3 separate regions of the Homo sapiens genome follow, and regions 1 and 2 are each linked to region 3. Evidence: promoter capture Hi-C in human tissues and cell types (Jung and others, 2019). All regions are on one chromosome and are shown on one strand. Each heading gives the region's core, a stretch centred on a gene start or on the middle of the fragment in contact. The rest is flanking DNA. Distances are from core to core; before and after follow the strand shown. Region 1 overlaps KIAA0232. Region 2 overlaps TBC1D14 (TBC1 domain family member 14). Region 3 holds the start of S100P (S100 calcium binding protein P).

The links. The method cuts DNA at HindIII sites, captures the fragments that hold promoters and counts their contacts. A contact is called where the count stands out against the background at its distance.
Region 1: a contact is called between a fragment that was not itself captured here and the fragment with the promoter of S100P in region 3, in 1 of the 25 tissues and cell types used here (spleen).
Region 2: a contact is called between a fragment that was not itself captured here and the fragment with the promoter of S100P in region 3, in 1 of the 25 tissues and cell types used here (spleen).

What each region holds. Positions count from the first base shown.
Region 1 is chr4:6,832,318-6,835,017 of GRCh38, reverse strand. All of the region lies in intron 3 of KIAA0232, which reads right to left. Among named protein-coding and RNA genes, the nearest start is that of KIAA0232, 51 kb to the right of the region's middle. The HindIII fragment of the contact is 7,001 bases long and covers 1-2,700 here.
Region 2 is chr4:6,937,906-6,940,605 of GRCh38, reverse strand. The region is part of intron 2 of TBC1D14 (TBC1 domain family member 14); the gene reads right to left. Among named protein-coding and RNA genes, the nearest start is that of TBC1D14, 29 kb to the right of the region's middle. RefSeq lists enhancers at 158-287, 1-428, 429-1,006 and a silencer at 1,720-1,769. The HindIII fragment of the contact is 7,774 bases long and covers 1-2,700 here.
Region 3 is chr4:6,692,501-6,695,200 of GRCh38, reverse strand. S100P (S100 calcium binding protein P) reads right to left here and starts at 1,323. Exons shown (of 2, transcript NM_005980.3): 1 at 1,131-1,323. The coding sequence starts at 1,268. RefSeq lists enhancers at 320-1,055, 1,056-1,792, 2,102-2,639. The HindIII fragment of the contact is 18,883 bases long and covers 1-2,700 here.

The sequences.
Region 1 (2,700 bases), core at 65-2,564, 140 kb before region 3:
AATTAAGCCCTGCCCAAATTCCTTACTTACAGATTCTGTCATATGATCGTGTTGTTGTTGTTGTTTTAATGCTACTAAGTTTTGGGGCAGTTTCTTGGGCAACAACACTCTTACCACAAATAAAAGTATTTCTTTTGTGCTAAACAACTCTCTTTTAAACTCAAGAGAACCACCCCTACCCCTCCCATTATAACTTTTACAGTGAACAAATCCAGGTTCATTCTATCTATATGTACCATCAAAAGATTTTTACTTTAGTTTCTTAAAATTTATTATTTTTTTAACCTGGTCATCATGTCACAAAAAATAAGAGTAATTGCCACTGGAATTTGTCAGTCTTAAAGAACACCTTTTCAAGGGACCCAATTGTGTCAAAGGTAATAATTACATCCAGAAATATTATAGTGACCATGTTTGCTGAATGCATAATTAGGATATATGGCAGGGCTAAATATTTCAAATTGAGATTGTTAGGGTAAATGTTGGAAATACTGTATCAGCAGCTTATCTTTGCCTCTAACAAATGCATTAGCCTACCTGCTAGAAGAGGAGTAGTTAATAGGAAAATAACTATTTGAAGGAAATATTTGTATGAATAGCAACAATAATAGCAATAGTTGTCAATATTTACTGAGCACTTACTTTGTGTCTAGTATTCCTCTAACTATATTATCAGTACATAAAATGATGCCTGGCACCTATATGGTCAATAAATGAATCTCCTTTAATCCTCAGTAACGATATTAGATATGCACATAATTTGTACAATTTATAAATGAAAAGACAGCTGTAGTGCCAGCTACTTGGAAGGCTGAGACAGGAGGACCCTTGAGCCCAAGAGTTCGAGGCTCAGTGAGCTCTGAGAAACACTGCACTCCAGCCTGGGCGAAAGCAAGACCCTATCTCTAAAATAATAATAATAATAAGAAAAGAAATGGAGAGTCAGGCACAGAGATGTTAACTTGTCCAAGTCAGTGGTCTAAGTTGGAAAGTGAAGAAGGTGGGGTTAGAACACAGGTCTTCAGATTCCAAGGCCTATGTTCTTAACAATGTGATACTGACTTACAGTAAGCGGGGGAAATCTCAAAAGGGAAAGAGAGAACAGGAGACTGCAGGTCTGAAAGTCACTTGGGATAAAAGTCAAGGTGGTATTAAAGGAACTTTTGGTCTGGGTCAGTAGTACAAGTTTTTTCACCCTATAACCCTTCTGATATCTCCTGCTTAATTCTTCATGAATTATCCAGTGATGTATATGCTATTTCATACCTACTACCCAGAAAGGTTTTTGTCACTATGGGAGTCAAAGTGAATACTGGCATGTATATACTCTTCCATCAGTAGCATGAACACTTTCTTCTTCCTTTTTTTTTCTTTTTTTCCTTTTTTTGAGATGCAGTCTCACTCTGTTGCCTAGGCTGGAGTGCAGTGACACAATCATGGCTCACTGCAGCCTCGACCTCCCTGGGCTCAGGTGATCCTCCAACCTCAGCCTCCCGAGCAGCTGAGACTACAGGCACACACCACCATGCCTGGCTAATTTTTGTATTATTTGTAGAGACAGGGTTTCTCCATGTTGCCCAGGCTAGTTTCAAACTCCTGGGCTCAAGTAATAGCATGGAATAATTCTTAGGAAGTTTTCAGGGATAGGGAAGGTTCTAGAAAGATACTCCTGGCTTTCTTCCTGGAGCTCTGAAATGCTGATTTGAAATAAGAGAATAAAAATAGGAAGTGTTGTTTAAATGCAAATAACAATGCTTGTGATGTAGAAGGTTATTTAATTAAAGTCTGTTGAATGTTTGTTGAAATACAGTGTATGCAGTGACACACACGAGGAGCGCTTTATGGTCAGACTTTTACAGTTCCTATTGTTAAAGATTCTAATAAACTGTAACAGGAAACACCGCAGATGCTAGCTTTTCAAGAAGCGTAATGCTGAACGGGACACGCTACAGGAGTATGTTACAAATAGGCTGAAGGAGCAAATAAGGTCTGTTGAATGAAGAAGGGATGAGTCTCACCTAGCACTCAGGACTGGGATTATTATTTATACAACCTGTGGGCAAATACAGATAATGTAATAATCCAGTTACATTTCTAGAAGGATGGACTCTGAGCTAGTAGATACAATTTGATTAGGGGATTTAAAACAAGCAACAGTAACTTCTCTGCAGGGCAGGCCCCAGTGTGTGATTATGGGGTCTACACCCACTCCTAGCATGCTTCCCTCCTACACACAAGTCACAGACCTGAGAAAGAAACATGTGGCTATCCATTTGTCTAATACGTATCTGAGCCTCTTGTATATTCCAGGAACTGTTTTAAGGGCTGGGAATCCAACAGAAAACATAGCAGAAAAGGTCCCCAACTCTGGCTGGGCGTGGTGGTTCACTTCTGTAATCCCAGCACTTTGGGAGGCCAAGGCAGGCAGATCACTTGAGGTCAGGAGCTCGAGACCAGCCTGGCCCACATGGTGAAACCCCATCTCTACTAAAAATACAAAAATTAGCCAGGTGTGGTGGTGGGCGCCTGTAATGCCAGCTACTCGGGTGGCTGAGGCAGGAGAATCGCTTGAACCTGGGAGGTGGAGGTTGCAGTGAGCCGAGATCACGCCACTACACTCCAGCCTAGGCAACACAGCAAGAGTCCCTCTCCAAAAAAAAAAAAAAAGGCCCCAACTTCATGAATTACATATGCCAGTAG
Region 2 (2,700 bases), core at 191-2,690, 250 kb before region 3:
CTCCCATATTTAAATGTGCACTAGAGGTCACAGGGAGGGTCAAACACACCCTCAGGCAAGAACCTCAACCCCAGCAAGGCTGACTCCAGGCAGGGCCCTCCCCGCTATACCTATCTGACCAGCACCCCCACCTGCCACCTGGCCTGGGTTTCCTTCCCCTTCCCCGGAGCCCTGAGGGCGGTTCTTTCTGTAGACCTCTCTGGGCTACACACATTCCATTATGGATTTGCTCGTTTCACACCCACTGTGTGCTGCTGTTACACATCAAGAACAACAAAGGTTCAAGTCACAGATTGTCCCACAGACCAGGGCTGAACAACAGAACTTCCTGCATGGTGGAAATGTACTAATCTGAGCCGCCCAACGGGGTGGCCACAAGCCACATGTGGCTACTGAGCGCCTGACTGGCCAGAGTGACTAAGAAACTGAATTTTCCATTTCGGGTAATTTTAACTCAATTTAAATAGCTACATGGGGCTAGTGGCTAACACACTGGACGGCAGTTTGATATTCTAGTAACTAAAGCACCAGCTGCGCCCCAATATACGACTCCAGGCAGCCAAAAGGGATGACTCTGCTGAGCATGCGTGAGGTGCCGCGGGAGCCAGGGGCACAGGCCGCTGGTGCCCATTTCTCAAGGAGCCTGGTGTAGGTCGTGACGCCTGAAAAGCAAGGCCAGTCCCCGCCGGCCTCAGGGCCTTCGTCTCCACTGTGTCCTTCGGAAGAACACGCTTCACCCGCACACCACTCACATCTTTGCTCAAATGCTGCTTTCCCACCAAAGCCCTCCCTGACCCCCCTGTGTAAAGTGGAGCCTCTCCCAGCTTTCCCATGCCACCTCCACACCACCACCCCACCCCCACCCCTCTCCTCAGGAACTCTGCCACAGGACTCACAGCCTGGCACTGAGCATCCCTTATCAGTCTCTGCAGTGTGGTCTCAGTCGACTATCTTGCCGTTGGGTGCTTTGATTTGGGAGAAGTGGGTGTGTTGACCGTTACATCCCCAAGACTGACGCAGGTATGCTGACCACTACATCCCCAGGACCGGGTCCTCGGGCAGATAATCTCTAAGAAAAGGGATGACGTCTGAATTCAACCATCTGGCAAGCACTTGCTGAGTTCTAATGAGCACCAGCGTACAATAAGTGAGAGGCAGTCCCTCGAGGGGTGCGCATGCTTCTGGGGGGGACCTGGTCGGGTGGCATTGCGCATGAGAGGTGCCCCAGCCACAGAGCTGGGAGTCGACACACAGCAAAGGGGGCCATTCTTCCTGGGGGGGGCTCCTGTGGATTCTTCTCATTTATGCAGCAGGAAGAGGCAGGCAGGAAAACCATTCCAGGAGGGGTCTCCAGGCCTGCAGGAGGACAGCAGGGACTACTGCTGATTCCAGAAGGTTCTTCCTGCTGGAAGATGCCGAGACCGCCTGACGCAACTCTGCATTTCACACGTGGGAAAGCTGTGTCTGCAAAGCGACTTGCCCCAGATGCAGAGGGAGTGGGTGGCAGAGCCAGGATGCCGTCCACTGCTGATGAGGAAGAGGCCACCGGCTGAGCCGGAGAGGGTTTCACTAGCATCTCTTCCCCATGGTGTCCACGGTGCTTTCCCATGCAGCACTCAGGCCAGCCCACAGAGCCTGGGGGATGGCGCCGCTGCTGCACTACTGCACAACCAGATCTCCACTCCTGCAGCCGGGACGGATACTCTTCAGAGTGCGGCTGCAGGGGAGGAACCCAATGACCTGAAACAATGGAACACTGGGCCCCTGGGAGGCCAGCCCGAGCCACAGCCCCTGCACAGCTGTGGTGACAGACATGCTCACCCCGGCATCTCTCCTGTGCCCCCTGGGTGAATGCGGGATCCACGAGGCACACAGAAGGCCCGCGAGGCAAGGCTGGTCCTCTCATGGAGGCTGGAGAGGGCTTCCTGGCAGTGGCTAAACATCTGCAGAAATGATCTAGGGATGTGGATCCTCAGAGAAGCAGTGAGAAGGCGTCCCTGAATGAGCGAGCCCCACCTCTCTGCAGACCTGGTCCTGGGGAGGGGGAGCTGCCAGGCTGGTGCCTGGTGGGAAGGCCAAGGGGACACCTGCTGTGGGCAGCCAGCTGGGAGTGAGGCTGGGATCCCCTGGAGAGGGCCAAGGACTGAAGAAGAGGAAGTGGCGCCTCACGCTCGTGTGACCACGATCCCTGTTCCTCCCAGATGTTTCCTCTTGGCATTGACTTCCCCCCTTGCTATCCTGGCCTGGCCCTCTCCAGAGGAGCATGTGAGGTTATGTCCACCCAAGGGCAGGGTGGCCGAGCATGGCACCACTGTCTCATGCAGCTCCTAGCACTGGGGCCACCAGGCAGCCCCCAGAAGAGGGATCTGCACAGCCAACAGTCAGGGCTGATCCCCACGGTCCTCCCCCAGACAAGCTCTCCCTGAGGATGGGGTGCTGTTCACAAATGGGGAGGCTCTTACACCATGGGAAGAAGCTGTGTCTCGGCAAGGCCAGCCCAGCAAAGTAGCGCCCACCACCACAACGCCCGGGACGGCACTGCTGCCTCCCTCTCCCCACCCAGCACCCGGGAGGAGTGGAATGAAGACCTCCACTTCCTTTCTCCAACACTCCTGGACCAGGCTCACCAGATGCGGCTCAATCAGCAATGCAACGGCCCCGGGGGGAGCCTACGTCAGACGTGGTGGAAACTGACCCTGC
Region 3 (2,700 bases), core at 74-2,573:
TGAGCACAGGAGTTTGAGACCAGCCTGGGCAACATGGTGAGACCTTGTCTCTAAAAAAAATACAAAAATTAACCGGGTATGGTGACATGCACCTGTAGTCCCAGCTACTCGGTAGGCTGAGGTGGGAGGATCACCTGAGCCCAGGGAGGTCGAGGCTGCAGTGAGCCGTGATCCTGCCACTGCACTCCAGCCTGGGTGACAGAGTGACATCTTGTCTCAAAAAAAAAAAAAAAGAAAAGAAAAGAAAATAGAAGCAATATTCTGAAGTGTTTCATGTCTTTGAAGTGATTCTAGGGCTGAAAATTTCAGGCTTTCATTTTTGATTATCAGCATCTATGTGGGTTAGCCCCTTAGCAGGTAGGCAGAGTCTGGTGGGGCCCGAAGGGGAGGGGAAGGAAGGAAGAAAGTGGGGGAGTGAGAAAGAAGGAGAGGACAGGGGTCAAAGGGAAGGGGAAATGGAGAGGGTACGGCTTCTGTTCAGCCCAGCCGGAGGCTGCCCCGGGCGGAAGGAAGCTGGTCCTGGCCGCCCTGAGGGGCCTTCTGTGAGGCTCAGGCCGGTGGCTCCTCCCTGGCAGGGAGCCCAAGGGAGGTCCACAGCTCTGCGCAGACAGGTGCCAGGATGGAGCCTCCTCCCGTCCTTCCTGCCAGACCCACTAATACCAGGCAACAAGGGGCCTGGGAATGGGAGCAGGGAAAGCGGGCAAGTGGGAGGCAGAGCTGGGGCGTTTATGGCCGGCAGCCTTGGAGGACAGCCCCGAGGGCTCAAGGGCTTGGCAAGCTTGGCAAACTTGCAAATGGCAGCCCTGGATTGCATTCCGCCCCTGCCCCCACTGCACAGGTTTGAGTCCCACTCTCCCACCAGGCCTGTCACAAATACACTGGGGTCAACCCCATGTTTCAAGGATCAAGCTGACCACACCCTCTCCCTGCTCAGATGCTCCCGCCTCCCCTGCCTTTATGCCAGGGTGGGTCCGTTCCTTGGCTGGGCTTCCAGGGCATTTCAGGATCTGTCCCTCTTGCCTCTGAGCCCCTTGACCGCCGACCCCACCGCAGCTCTCAGCCCTCTGCCTGCCACGCCTTCCCCTTCTTCCCCAGCCCCCGCTGAGTCCAGCACTGCCGGCCTGGCTCACCTGCAGGAAGCCTGGTAGCTCCTTCTCCATCAGCACCTTGAGCTCCCCCTTGGTCAGGGTCTGCGTGCTGCCCTCGCTGCCCGAATATCGGGAAAAGACGTCTATGATCATGCCCATGGCTGTCTCTAGTTCCGTCATGGTGCTAGATTCAGACCCACCTTCCTCCTGGGGGCTGGCAGGGCCGAGAAAATGTCCCACTGGCAGCCTCTTGGTGCTTTATAAGGCAGCCTCATATTGACACAGAGGGTGGGACAGTGGGGTTGGGACATTCAGGAAGTCCTGCCCCTCCCCATTCATGTGCTCAGTTCTGATGAAATGCATCGTTGTGATGACGTTTCTGGAACCTTTCCCCCAGCCAAGGCCCAGGGTGTGGGCTGCCTCCAGGCATCCACATTTTACAGTGTTCACCTGTGTCTCGGCGCCATCACTGAGCCACAGTGGCATCCTCATTCCTGGCCCTCCCTGGGTAAGTGGGCACGGGGTGAGTGTGTGTGGAGTGAGTGGTGACTCCGTGGCCCTTTGTGTCAATATCAGAGCGTGCTGGCACCCAGCGTGCTGACACGAGGAGACATCTGAGAGTGAATTCACATGGGCGTGTTTGTGAACATGGATCTGCCCCATCGTCCCTTTCTTAGAGCACTCTGTGTCCTTCAGAGGCCCAGCTTCCACGTCAATCTCGCTCGCTCCTCCCCTGTGGGGCCAAACAGAAAACTCCCCTTCATCCTCTGGGAGTTTGCTGAAAATCAACGGGCAGAAGGCAGATGAATAGGAGAAGAGCATAACAGATGTATTTGATCATAGCTTATGTGGCACGGCAGCCTTCAAGATGAAGATCCAAAGATCTGGTGGAAACTATCCATAAACACAGTTCAGCGAAGTATGGAAATATGATTGGATACAAAAGTAAGGCTGGATGCTCACAGACCAAGAGGAGAGCCTGGTAGGGCCTGTTGAGTCAGATTCCCTGGGGCCTCTCTGAGCAGCTCTCCTTCCTTCTAGGTGTGGGGCAGGACTCTTTCTGGAATGGAGCTCTTATGACCTACAGTCAAATAAAGCAGGCCAGAGGGTTTCTTTAGGCTGGTTTCTACACAGAAAGGGGAGGGAGTGGAGAACTGGAGTCATATTTCTGGGTTTTATGGCAGGGTTTGGGGAAGCCTCTCAGAGGAGGAGGAGCTGGAGACAGGAGGGTGGGAGCAGGACAGAGAAACTTTTGTTTCTGAGGCTTCCACGTTGGGGTGTTGTTTTTTGAGCCCCGGCACTTACCAAACCCAAATCACCCACAGGGCTTAGACGGCACAAAGGCTCCTGGGACTCTGGGCAGAGTCAGGGACAGTCACACCCCTCCCCGTCTCTATAGCGGAGGTACTCAGAGGGTCTGTGCTTGGGAGGCTGAGCGAGTCCTGGAGAGCATGGAGGTAGGGGCCTGTGTTCACATCCTGCCCCGGTCAAAGTAGGCCCACACTCAAAGGCCTCTCTCTCAGCAGAGATCTTCCAGAGTGTCAGCCTCCAGCAAGTTCCCTAACCTCTCCCAACACAGCCTCCACCAGCACATGGGCCGAGACTCTCCCCA